2 separate regions of the Homo sapiens genome follow, and region 1 is linked to region 2. The links are contacts of gene promoters, found by promoter capture Hi-C in blood cells and fetal thymus (Javierre and others, 2016). All regions are on one chromosome and are shown on one strand. The core of a region is centred on a gene start or on the middle of the fragment in contact, and the rest is flanking DNA. Distances in the headings are between cores, read along the strand shown.

The links. Contacts are between HindIII fragments. The CHiCAGO score rates a contact against its expected background, and 5 or more counts as called.
Region 1: a contact is called between a fragment that was not itself captured here and the fragment with the promoter of ZRANB2-AS1 in region 2, in 1 of 17 cell types (erythroblasts). The highest score is 6.5, in erythroblasts.

What each region holds. Positions count from the first base shown.
Region 1 is chr1:70,629,930-70,636,231 of GRCh38, reverse strand. No RefSeq gene overlaps it. Among named protein-coding and RNA genes, the nearest start is that of LINC01788, 73 kb to the left of the region's middle. The HindIII fragment of the contact is 1,790 bases long and covers 1,860-3,649 here.
Region 2 is chr1:71,042,048-71,048,649 of GRCh38, reverse strand. It overlaps ZRANB2-AS1 (ZRANB2 antisense RNA 1), which reads right to left and starts at 2,144. Exons shown (of 3, transcript NR_038420.1): 1 at 1,061-2,144. PTGER3 (prostaglandin E receptor 3) reads left to right here and starts at 834. Exons shown (of 4, transcript NM_198719.2): 1 at 834-1,969. The coding sequence starts at 1,073. RefSeq lists an enhancer at 837-1,420. The HindIII fragment of the contact is 6,286 bases long and covers 1-5,272 here.

The DNA.
Region 1 (6,302 bases), core at 1,505-4,004, 410 kb after region 2:
AAGAAGAGTCTTTTGAGGGATGACTGCGAGGTTAATTTTGAGGCAGAATATGGTAAAAAGTTTTTATCCATAATACTTCCCATTCCCGACAATTATTGCTTCTGAAAGGTCACTTTTGAAAGGTCAGGAAATGGAAATACATGCATCAGAACAGACTGAAAACAGAGAATCTCCTTTCCCATAAATTCTACAAATGAGTACTTCAAGGTCCCAATGAGAAAAGACCTTTAAACTCCTTCTGCCTCCTACATCAGGATAATAACTGTGGAAAGGAGGAGAAGTACAGATCTTATTTTAAAGAGACAATGGTGCCTGTAGGGACAAGGAGAAGAATAGTGTTATACTTTCCCACAAATGCTTGATAATTTCAGCAGGAAAGCATGTTATCTAATTATAATATAGATGAAGGGCCAGCTTTCAGAACATTTGAGAAGCAAAGGTGTATTCATATCCTCCCTCTCTTCTTTCCTATCTGTTTTTCCCTTTATGGAGACTCCATGGGCACAGAGTGACACTGGGTTACCCCAGCTGCCCACAGCAACATATTGTGATGTACATAGAGCACCACCCATTCTTCTCCAGCTTACTCAATCCCCTTGCTATCATACTCAGCAAGACAGAAAGCAAAATAAACTAAAACAGACAACAAACAAACAAATAAACAGTATTGGCCCAGCTAGAGTGTTACAATCTGTTTGCGATTGAGAAAAAGGGATATGAAGAGCCAGTGTGGGAAATGTATGGGGGACACATCAGGTGGCAAGTGGAAGGTTTGGCTTTAGGTTATGGTAGAAGAGGTTCAGTGTCGTGAGAGAAAAAGAGGAGCATATGTATAGGAAGGAGGTTACAGTGAAAATTCAGTAGTGGAGAGATAAACTAGTTGTATTATGGTGGTTATTTCCTCAAGAAATTCATGAGTTCACCACAGGGGAGTAGAAAATGCATAACTGATATTGGGGAGTTAATGGAGAAGTAAGGTGTGAAAGCACTTCAGAGATGGAAAGCAAACTTGTTAGGGAACTCTGAGGAGATGGCTGGATAGTTCTGAGGCCCCACTTGAGATTTGTTGTCATAGACTCAAAGTGAGATCAATTGGCAAATGTATGCCTCCGTAACTGCAGCCATTTTCCAGGCTGATTAGAAACAGTCTGCAGTGAGCAGAGAATTTGTTTTGTCAGTCAAGTGAAATGGAAGGAAAGAGCAACAAACAGCTACAGTCAATTATAATGATTGTGACAGACTTTGGAGAGCAGAAAAGTAGGAAGGAGGAACAACTGAAAACTAAAAAGTGTTGAGATCAGTGAGTTCTTCATGGAGTAATAAAGTGTTCAAATGGACCTATTGGAGTAAGGGAGCTCCAAGGGGAAGGGGCAGTGAAGAAATGAGTAAATTAAAATTGAGATTTCAGAGGTGATTAAGTTATTAAGTCATATTTAACAAACTTTTAGATCACAATCCTCAGAAAGGAATTTTACATAGACATTAAATGTACATACACAAGCGTTCACAAAACAATACTTACACTTAAATGCACTCTGATACCTGATATGTTTAATTCTGATCCATTCTTATTTAAAATGTTGTTGCTAAATTATTAAGACCCACTAATAGGTCCCAATCTGGAGCCTGAAAAACACTGGTCTGGAATAAGTCCATTGCGGGTAGCTCAAGTGGGATAGAACAAAAGAACTAAGGAAGTCACGGACCTCAGAGGCCAGAGTGTTGAACTGACCATTTTCACTGATATCGAAGTTGCCAAAATAATGATAGATGTAGTGGAATAAAACAATTAGCCACATGTGAAAATTTTACACTTGATCTTAGCCAAAAGGCCAAGAAGTGATGCAGATGCGAAAGCTTTCTAATGGTTAATTGTTTCAATAAAAATAATCTTCATAATAAATGAATGAGTTAATTAATTATACATTGCCCTTTATCCACTTCTAATCCTTTTTAAACATTGGTATGAGTAAATACATTAAAATTAATTAGTTAATTATTTTGATGTTCATTCATTTAACAAATGTTTGAGATCCTTCTTTGGGGAAAAATGACTTGATTTCTGTATTTCTATTCTTATGTACTTTGTAGTCTAGTGTGTGATACAGACATTGAACAAATAAACATATTAATAAATACAGAGTTACAGCTTGCAATAACAGCTCTCTGCTGTGAGAGATAACATGGAATAGGGAAATAGATGTCTCAAAAATCCTCTTTGAATAAATGATGTATTAGCTGAATCCCAAAAAGATGAGTAAGGGATGATCATGAGAGAATTAGCAAATCTCTTTATCTTTCTGTATTTTAGCATCTTTATCTTTGAAATAAGAGTAAAGTAATAGCAAATAACCATGTAGTAGTGTATATTTCAAGAGAGCTAGAAAAGATGATTTTGATTGTTGTCACCACAAAGAAATGATAAGTGTTTAAAATGATGGCTATGTTAATTATTCCTATTTCATTATTATACAATGTATACATGCATTGAAACATCACACTGTACCCCATAAATATGTACATTACTATGCATCATTTATAAAGTTACAAATTTATTTTTAAAATTTTTCAAAAAATTAAATAGAATCTCAGGGTGGGATGGAGCCTTAAAGTCCATCAAATCCAACAACCCTTTCAATTCTTGAATGTTTTTTAAGTATTTCTGCCCAAATGTCAATATTGTGGTGAACTTGCTCTCTTTCAAGGGACCATAATGGGAACCTTTCCTATTTTTACTTTAGATATTTTTCTTACACACTCATTCATTCAACCCTCACAACTACCCTGTGAAAAGTAATGTCATCTCTAATTTGTAGAGGAGAAGAACAAATGGGGTTGGAACAAATGGGGTTGGCCTTGATACACAATGGTACTAGTAACCACCACTTCCCAATTAATCCTTTGGGCTGTTAATAATGGCAGCATTTTTCCCTGATGCACCAATACACACTAGCAGCTGGTTAGGATGAAGGGGCAGCTGCAGGGTCATGGGACAGTATCTTAGAGTAACCATCTGGTACTGCTCCAGCCTGAACTCACATCTATGACCTCATTTGCTTCGTGTCCTAGCCAAGTCAGTGATAGATGTTTTATTCCTTACTTGACCTTGTTCTTTCAGTCAATCCCTGTTGAGTGCCCCTAGCTGCTAAATGTGAGAATAAAGAGATAGGGTTATAATCCATCTTCTCTTTAAGGGCCTACAGATTAATCAAGGAAAGAGAAAAACCAAGCAGAATTTTCCACACCATATGTTGTAAAAAGTGCAATGATAAAAGTAAGTACATACAGGCCGCTAAGGTAGCAGAGAGAAGGGGCATATACACAATTTTCTAGTTCTAGGGGTGAAAGCAGTGTTTTACAATCACAAACACATGTCGGCTTTTGATAAACATTTAAATTTCTAGCTCCTCCCATAAGAAAAAAAAAAAGAAAAGAAAAACAGTTCTAGGAAACCCCAAAGGAGCTTGCCTCCATTGAAAATTGCAATGCTTGGTTTTCCTAGCAGCATTTACTTTTTGTAACTTGAGTTACACTAAAAATATAATTTTTTGTTTTCCAAATTTAAAAAAAAGTTGATTATACTTAATATATTTTTAAACTACCTGACCCACCATCACACCATATTTCCAATAGATAATTCCACTAAGCTTCTGTGGCAGGAGAATCTCATGTGTCCTCTTGCTAATGATACCTCCTGGAGAATCACTGCAGATGTCAAAGAAACAGCAACAGAAGAAGTAGCACTTGAACCAGTGATTTTCAACCTTGACTGATCCTTAGAGGTTTCAGGAGCACATTTAAAATATTTCAATACCCTATTCCACAACAGAGCAAATGAAATCAGAATGGTGGGGTGAAATGTATACAATTATGATTTGTCAAACAAAAATAATATTAATGATAAAATAAACATTTTTTAAAAGAAAGAAAGAATGAATGTTGGGATGAGGGTGGTGCCAGGAAAGGGTGTTGGATTTTTTTAACACCCTTGCTGATTTTAATGTGCAGCCGAGATTGAAAAACACTGATGGAAATATAAGGCTAGTTTTTTTCTTCAGTTGGTTCTTGGAATTTTCCCAGTGGTTCTCAGACTCTCCTGATTTGATTCACCTTGGGAGAAGTTATTCATTTCTACTTACAGCTGTCATTACCTCATTGATAATCTATGGCAATTACCATCTGTCTGATCTCTTTATTGTACATCTCTCTACCTGCACCTGGCTGTTCATTTATTCATTTATTCAATACAGCAGTCAACAATTCAATATCAATTGGGCACCTGCGTTCTGTACAAGGCAGTGCTAACAACATATAATGATGAAAGTCACAGTCACTAACCTTTGAGACTCCCAGCCTAAGAGGAAAGGCAAAAAAATATAACAGCAGGATTAAACTCTGATAGAATATGGGAAGTATGTACAAGGAGGTATAGGGGCACAGGAGGGAAGCATTAACTGTACCTGGGCAAGGAATTAAAAGGACACCTCAGGCTTACCAAAGGAAATGATGCATCAGCTGAGTATTATCAAAAGTGGACATGGGTTGCCAATCATCAGTGCCCTAAATGTCAACAGGAAAAACCTGTAGATCAAGCAAAGCTAAACCTGCTAGACTTCCTGCAGTAAAAGATAAAACGGGCTCAACAAAGCCTTAGTAGTGAAGGCAGAAGAAGATGGAGGATTTTGAGACCTGGGCTTGATGACTTTAAGGTAGGTTTAGCAAGAGAGAAACTAGACGGAAATGGGATGAGTTTATTACATAATGATGGTGGACTGGTTTTGAAGTCAATCTAGGGGATGCCCATTTGTCTTGGTAAGTAAATTATTTTAGCTAGTTTTATAGTTTTATATTCCAGGCATATATATTTCCTGAAGCAAACAGCTAATTATTTTTGTTTGTTCTCAGTGTTATAGAAAATATACCCAGTCACAGTATTGTCTACCAAGTGTTAGGTTCTGATTGAGGTCTGAGGGGAGTCAGTGGGGCAGCGGGTAGCTGGAAAAATACTTGAGGAGTTGTAGACAATTTTGACATGGCTTTACTCTATCTCTGGGCACAAGTGAGCCTGGATGCAAGCCGTAGTCTGGGCGTGAGCAAGCATGGGTGTGAGCCTAGGTGCAAGCCTACCCAGGCACAAACCACATGTACAGCATCAGCAGGGTAATTAGACCTTTTATAGACAATAGTGGCTCCGAACCAAGCATGAGCTTATGTGAGTGGTTACATAATGCACCCCGCATGGCGTAGTTACATAATGTGCAGAGTTGTGTGCCTGCACACTGAACTCATTGAGTCATGCTAGACTGGATACCTGCCTCAGCCTATTCTTGACCACAGTACATCCATTTTCCTTACAGTCCACCTCCTAGGCCGAGGGAGGCATAGGTCTTGAACATACAGGTCTTGGACACATCAGTTTTGAGTACACAGGCCCAGCACAGGCTTGACACATAGGTCTGACACATAGGCCCTGGGCACACAGGCCTGATACACAGGCCCCAGACACACAGGTCCGACATATGTGGGCAACCACCCCATGGTGACGTTACCCCAATGTTGCTTTATATATTAAGCCAGGATTTTTGTTCCCCTACCTTTAGGGGCAATGGGGGAGACAATAACAGGTTACCATTCATCCCTATACCTGGTCGGATGAGGTCATCCTTTCTCCCATAGGTCTTGCCACATGGCCTGCTCCCACATGGGCTGGTGATCAACTAGCCAATTCTGTAACTTCCAGGTAGTTAACCACAAGGTTAAACCTTAATAAACTGCCCAGCTATGGGTGCAGACTAACATAGGTGTCACCTCCTTGGTGATCACCATGTATACTGCTCTAAGTTCAGCCCATTGGCTACTTTGCCCACACCCAGTTTCAAACCATATGCTGTCAGTACTAGGGTGGACTGCGACAGTGGTCCAGTCAGAAGCAGCACTTTGGCTAGACCCATCTGTGTATCATGCTTCATCAGGAATGTGGGGACACCCTTCCTTAAATGGTGAAGGCTCAGGGTCTAGAGGTGCCTCAGGCACCATGGCCTTATCTTGCATTAGGACTACAGTTCCCAAGATCTCTTGCAACTCTGCTGCTAAGGGACTTATATCCAGCGTATTCCGCTGCTCTAAGTAGGTGCCTTACTTTGCTAAAGTGGAAGTCTGCACCATCCCAGCCTGAGGGGTCATTATCCATGAATGCACCCCTCCCACTGTCAAGTAAGTCATCAGCACAACGACTGTAGCCTGTCCTGCCATGCTCTCATGAGCCTAAAGGGCAGCATATGCAGTTACTAACTCCTTCTCTA
Region 2 (6,602 bases), core at 895-3,394:
AGTTCTTATTGTATGAAGATAAGAAGGATGGTTGGAGGCTTTGTAAGGAATACCTTTCTCTTCTGCTCCCCTCTCACTCCCATAGGCTGGGAGCAGTTGATTTCACTACCTCAGATATGCAAATTGATGCCACCTTCCTGTAGCCACTTTTGCCATAGCTGACCTTTTTGTTGGGTGGTGGGGAGGGGAGCGGGCAGGATTAGGCGAGGGGTAGTAGTTGGGATTTCTTGGTCTTGGAATTCAACCATCCGATGTATTTGTTTCCCTGTGTCTATTCCCTTAAGTCTACAGGCACTGTCTAGTAATTTTATAGTTTTCAGCGGCACCCCAGGGGACAGGACACCTTGGCCTTTTTATAATCACTCTAGAGTCACAAAGCAGAAAGGAAAAAAGTTAACGATCAGCTATGCAAAGGCTTGTGTGGATTGCTTAAGGACAGGCGATTTTCACTTTACCAGAGTTACTAAAGGACTTCAGGAGAAGGATCCCGTCCCTGTAGGAGCGTTTGTGGTTGAAGAAGCAGGAGGACGAGCGCTCAGGTGCGCCTCGGCAGTTTGCCTGGGGTCCGCAAGTCCAGTGCTACTTATTAGCTGCTTGCCGTCCACCGACACTTTAGCGGAGAACTGGAGGAGACCCCAGTGGGCTCCCGGTCCGGCCAGGAGCAGGGCGTTTCAGAGGAGACCGTCTGGGGCTTCCCAACCCAGGCGATCAGGATAGGCAACAGCCAAGAGAGGCGCTCAGTTGCTTTGCACCCTCCTCCCACCTCGGTTCTGTCCACACCCACGGGCGCCCCGCCCCCTCGGCCTTATAAAGGGGACTCGGCACCTCCGCGCGCCTCGCCACCAGAGGTTTCCCAGAGAGGAAGGCGTGGCTCCCTCCCGGGCCAGTGAGCCCTGGCGCCGCCGCGGCCGCGGTCCCAGCAGCGGAGTAGGGCGGCGGCTGCGCCCCGCACCATGGGGGGCAGCCCAGCCCCAGCCGCGGTAAACGCCGACCTCCGCCGCCGCCCGCGCCGCGTCTGCCCCCTCCCGCTGCGGCTCTCTGGACGCCATCCCCTCCTCACCTCGAAGCCAACATGAAGGAGACCCGGGGCTACGGAGGGGATGCCCCCTTCTGCACCCGCCTCAACCACTCCTACACAGGCATGTGGGCGCCCGAGCGTTCCGCCGAGGCGCGGGGCAACCTCACGCGCCCTCCAGGGTCTGGCGAGGATTGCGGATCGGTGTCCGTGGCCTTCCCGATCACCATGCTGCTCACTGGTTTCGTGGGCAACGCACTGGCCATGCTGCTCGTGTCGCGCAGCTACCGGCGCCGGGAGAGCAAGCGCAAGAAGTCCTTCCTGCTGTGCATCGGCTGGCTGGCGCTCACCGACCTGGTCGGGCAGCTTCTCACCACCCCGGTCGTCATCGTCGTGTACCTGTCCAAGCAGCGTTGGGAGCACATCGACCCGTCGGGGCGGCTCTGCACCTTTTTCGGGCTGACCATGACTGTTTTCGGGCTCTCCTCGTTGTTCATCGCCAGCGCCATGGCCGTCGAGCGGGCGCTGGCCATCAGGGCGCCGCACTGGTATGCGAGCCACATGAAGACGCGTGCCACCCGCGCTGTGCTGCTCGGCGTGTGGCTGGCCGTGCTCGCCTTCGCCCTGCTGCCGGTGCTGGGCGTGGGCCAGTACACCGTCCAGTGGCCCGGGACGTGGTGCTTCATCAGCACCGGGCGAGGGGGCAACGGGACTAGCTCTTCGCATAACTGGGGCAACCTTTTCTTCGCCTCTGCCTTTGCCTTCCTGGGGCTCTTGGCGCTGACAGTCACCTTTTCCTGCAACCTGGCCACCATTAAGGCCCTGGTGTCCCGCTGCCGGGCCAAGGCCACGGCATCTCAGTCCAGTGCCCAGTGGGGCCGCATCACGACCGAGACGGCCATTCAGCTTATGGGGATCATGTGCGTGCTGTCGGTCTGCTGGTCTCCGCTCCTGGTAGGTAGTTCCAGGGTTGGGGGAAGTCAGGATGCGTGTGCGAGTAAGCGGGAACCTAAGACTTTGCTAAGTGGCAGCACCCGCAGGGGTGTGTTTGCAACCGCAGAGCGCTGAAGTGTCCTTTCCTCCTGCCCGCGCGGTCTTGGTTACAGCTTCAGAGCTGAGCTCCTCACTTACTAGCTGAGCGCCTTCCAAGAGCCAGGATTCGCATTAGGCACTGTTTATGAGCACATAGAGATCACAGGGCTGCTCACATTCTAGTCGGGTAGGAGACAGGATGTGTCATTGAAATGACATATATGCAGAGCTAGAAGTTTGTCCTGAGTGCATTAAAAGCAGAATTGCTATGATAACTGTAGCCTGATATTGTGGGGTTTTTTTTTTTTTTTTTTTTTGAGACGGAGTCTCGCTCTGTCACCCAGGCTGGAGTACAGTGGCGCAGCCTCGGCTCACTGCAAGCTCCGCCTCCCGGGTTCACGCCATTCTCCTGCCTCAGCCTCTCCGAGTAGCTGGGACTACAGGCGCCCGCCACCACGCCCGGCTAATTTTTTTTTTTTATTTTTAGTAGAGACGGGGTTTCACCGTGGTCTCGATCTCCTGACCTCGTGATCCACCCGCCTCGGCCTCCCAAAGTGCTGGGATTACAAGCGTGAGCCACCGCGCCCGGCCGGGTTTTTTTTTTTTAATTTCAAATTCCTCTTTCACGTTAATAAGATTTTCAGTCTGCAACCCCATACAGTCACAGCCCTCCTGCAGCTTCTGAAAGACTGCGCGACCTATGGGTGCCTTCAAGGTTCATTCTTGATGAGGCAGGAGAATGAAAGATACGAGTTGCCTCCTCAGCCTTTCGCCATGGTGCTTGACCCTCTAGGAAGTGCCCGAACGACAGTCAGTGGGATCCGGAAGCTCAGCAGCTTCTTCAGGCCAGCATTTACTTACCCTTGTAGCACTCAAGCAGGGTTCGCTAATCCTGAGATAGGAGGTAGAGGTTTCTCCATGTCCTAGCTCCTCACACCAGAGCAATGCAGAGGAGCAAGGGATGTTTGCAGAGGCTCTTTGCCTAACACCTGCCCTTACGTGATATTTTTGAGGTTTTTTTGTCTGTGTTACTTTTAGCTAGAAATGTCCGTGTGTAAGTGCTGTTTACTAATTCCTGAAGAATGGATGCTTACTTAGGCCCTGGGGTGTCTGGGTTAATAGATGTTGCAGAAAGAGCGATATGGTCACTGTTACAAAGGTATAACCAACTATATGTATTATACAGTTGTGGAAAACCTTTGAAACACGTGAACGCAGTTTTTTTTCTTTCCTAATTATGGTAAAATATATTACATACAATTCAGTATTTTAACCATTATTATGTGTACAGTTCAGTGGCATTAGGCATTAAGTACGTTGAGTTTTTTGTGCGCCATGTATACTTTTAAATCCCTTGCATTTGAAAATAGAAATGTAATTTCTTTAACCTGGTTTGGTAGATTGGAGCACAAACCTTGGCTCCAAATCAGTGACATGAGGGGACAAGGAGTGTTATGCTGAGACCTAACTGCCCACAAGTCGCTGTATGGTCACAGTTCTTTATTCCAGGAGTTGGAACTCAGGCTGATGTCATCACTATGGCTTATCAAAACCAGCACCAGTTTTAGATATACAGTATTTACTTTTATGGCTGAGGAATGGAGTGTACAGGTGGCCAACTAGGAAGGAAGAAAGAGTTCTAAATAGTAAACACTTTACTAAAGTGTGGTAATTAATATAACTTTAAAGGCAAACAGGGTATCAGTTTTTCACAAGTGTCATTTGAGTCCCACATCTTTGAGTTTGCTGTATCACATGATTTATATCCTAGGGAAAAAAAATGCAGTTAAATCAATTGAACAAAATACCCATACAGTTAATCAGACTTATAATTTATTGTTTGTGCATTTTGTTTTTAAGTCAAAGCGAAGCCATGTAGTGTGTTTTTGATTTAGACACTTTAATTCTAGTACCAAAAGTATGGTGGCCTCAGAAAGAAAGTAGATCAATCTTGAAAACTGTAATTTAGGATGGCCAAACTCACTCTTTCAAGAAAGACTGCATTTGAAACTAGTCTTACTTAATTTCAATTTATTTTCATTTGGATAATACTTATTGATTTATAGCATTTTACTGGGTACTTTATTAATTCAATTATAAAAACATTAAACAAAATAAATTAAACATGTGATCATATCAAAAAGGAGAATTTTTTTTTTTTTTGAGACTCTGTCTCAAAAAAAAAAACTCCAGGCTGGAGTGCAGTGGTGAGATCTCAGCTCTCTGCAGCCTCCACCTCCCAGGTGCAAGTGATTCTACTGCCTCAGCCTTTGGAGTCACTAGGATTACAGGCGCCCGCCACCACACCTGGCTAATTTTTGTATTTTTAGTAGAGATGGGGTTTCACCATGTTGGCCAGGCTGGTCTCGAACTCCTGACCTGAGGTGATCCGCCCACCTCGGCCACCCAAAGTGCTGGGATTACAGGCATGAGCCACCGTGCCCGGCCTAGGAGAAATGAGAACTTTTTAAAGAAAATGGTTCCATCGGCTGGGCGCAGTGGCTCACGCCTGTAATCCCAGCACTTTGGGAGGCCGAGGTGAGTGGATCATTTGAGGTCAGCAGTTCGAGACCAGCATTCCAACATGGCCAAACCCCGCCTCTACTAAAAATACAAAAATTAGCGGGGCATGGTGGCATGCGCCTGTAATCTCAGTTACTCGGGAGGCTGATGCAGGAGAATTACTTAGGCTAGGGAGACAGAGGTTGCTGTGAGCCGAGATCACGCCACTGCACTCCAGCACGGGTGACAGAGCAGGACTCCCTCTAAAAAAAAAACAAAAAACAAAAAAAAAACTCCAAATATCTTCAAAAAGATTTACTGTACAAAGTTGGAATTACTACAAAGAAAAGAAACTGGCAAAGCTGCTTTCTTAATAGAGAATTATAAGAATAAAAACACTAGAATTTAGTGAATTGAATTTTCAGCATATTAGTGTTAAAATGAGAGATTAACGCTGTTTTTTCTAACTATGAGTGTAATATAGGTTTCCTGCTAGCATTCGTTAAGTTGGGTGTAGGATACTATTCTAATTGTCCAAACTTCTTACTTGAAAGGACCCTGAGTATATCCTGGAAGACTATCATGACTATAATAAATATTCAGTTGTTACTGCAGGAAAACTTGGTAGTACAGAAACACCATAATAAGAAAATGTCCCAACAGCTACAAGTTCACACTACATAAATACTTAAATAGAGGTTTATGTATCCTTAAACAAAAGCTTTGTTTCCTTTTTCTTTTTCTCAGAAATTTTGCAAAATACAATATAAAATGTGAAATTAAGAGAGTACAGTGGGAAATTATGTCACCATGATAGATGACCTACAGTTTTTAGTTACTGCTTATGTAAGGCATCACATTGTCATTCTGTTGCAATCAGCCAGTTCATCCAGCAATGCAATCTATTTGATTTTTATCATTATTTTATGTTTTATATTTTATGAATGATGCTCACCATAGCTCAGTTGTTTGACCTGATAGCTAAATTTCCAGAAATGGGAATAACCTTAGGATTTTGTTCAAAGGAAGCTATGAGTACATTTTGTACTTTTATAACTTGGCACTCCCAAACAGGTAGAATGTGGCTAATACTGTAAGCTATCTCAAAAACAGTAAATACAAAGCCAGCTATGAACATCATGAAAAGTGAGGTATGAGCAACAAACAGTTTCTCATCATCAATCTTGGAACTGGATAAAAGCAGCCTTAGAAACTTTTGCCTTTAATCTTGAACCACTGAATTCCCTGCTCAGTATCCACAAATACAGAGATGTTTCAGTTCAAGAAGATATTTCACAATGTAGTTGTGATTTTTTTTCATTTTAGTTAAGGAGTCACTGATGTATTTTGACAAGCGAAATTTGCCTTTAATATGCCACATGTGGTAGATATGTATGATGAATTATTTTCAGAAATAATGTTGTTTTATAGCATATAAAAGTATTATTCAATTGCTAATCTCTTCTGCCTCAACTTTCTGCCATATTCAGGATGTTGCTTCAGAGAAAGTGATTAAACATATGAATCCACATTGTAGGAAAAATATTCTATAATTTTTCTCTTTTGAAAAAGGTGTGAAGGTCAACAAAATATTCTATGATTATAAAACTGATTAATGTTATAATCTGTTCAGAAAAGCAGAATTTCCACATTTATGAGTGAAATATTTAAAGAATTATAATACAAGATAGGATGTAATTAATGCCTTTGGCTCTCAGAAAAAAGTCAGTCTGAATTTGCCAGAGGAGATTTCCAGGAAGATGAATTGGCATAACCTCATTTCATGACTTCATGACTGAGAGCAAGTGTGTCCCAAAACCCAGCCCAATGAGAACAAAGGGTGCACACTAGATCAATGGGAATGATGTTTTAAAAATGTTCAAGAAAACAAATTTAGATGGTTAGTCCCTGAATGACAAGATGAGGACTTCACTCTTTTGAGTTTATCAGAAAGAGCCAAGAATTAAACACTTCTTAAGCCATCATCTTTGAAGAAATTCACATGGTCTGAAGTTGTAATATAATTGTGAGTCACTGGCCCTTCTCTTTTGAA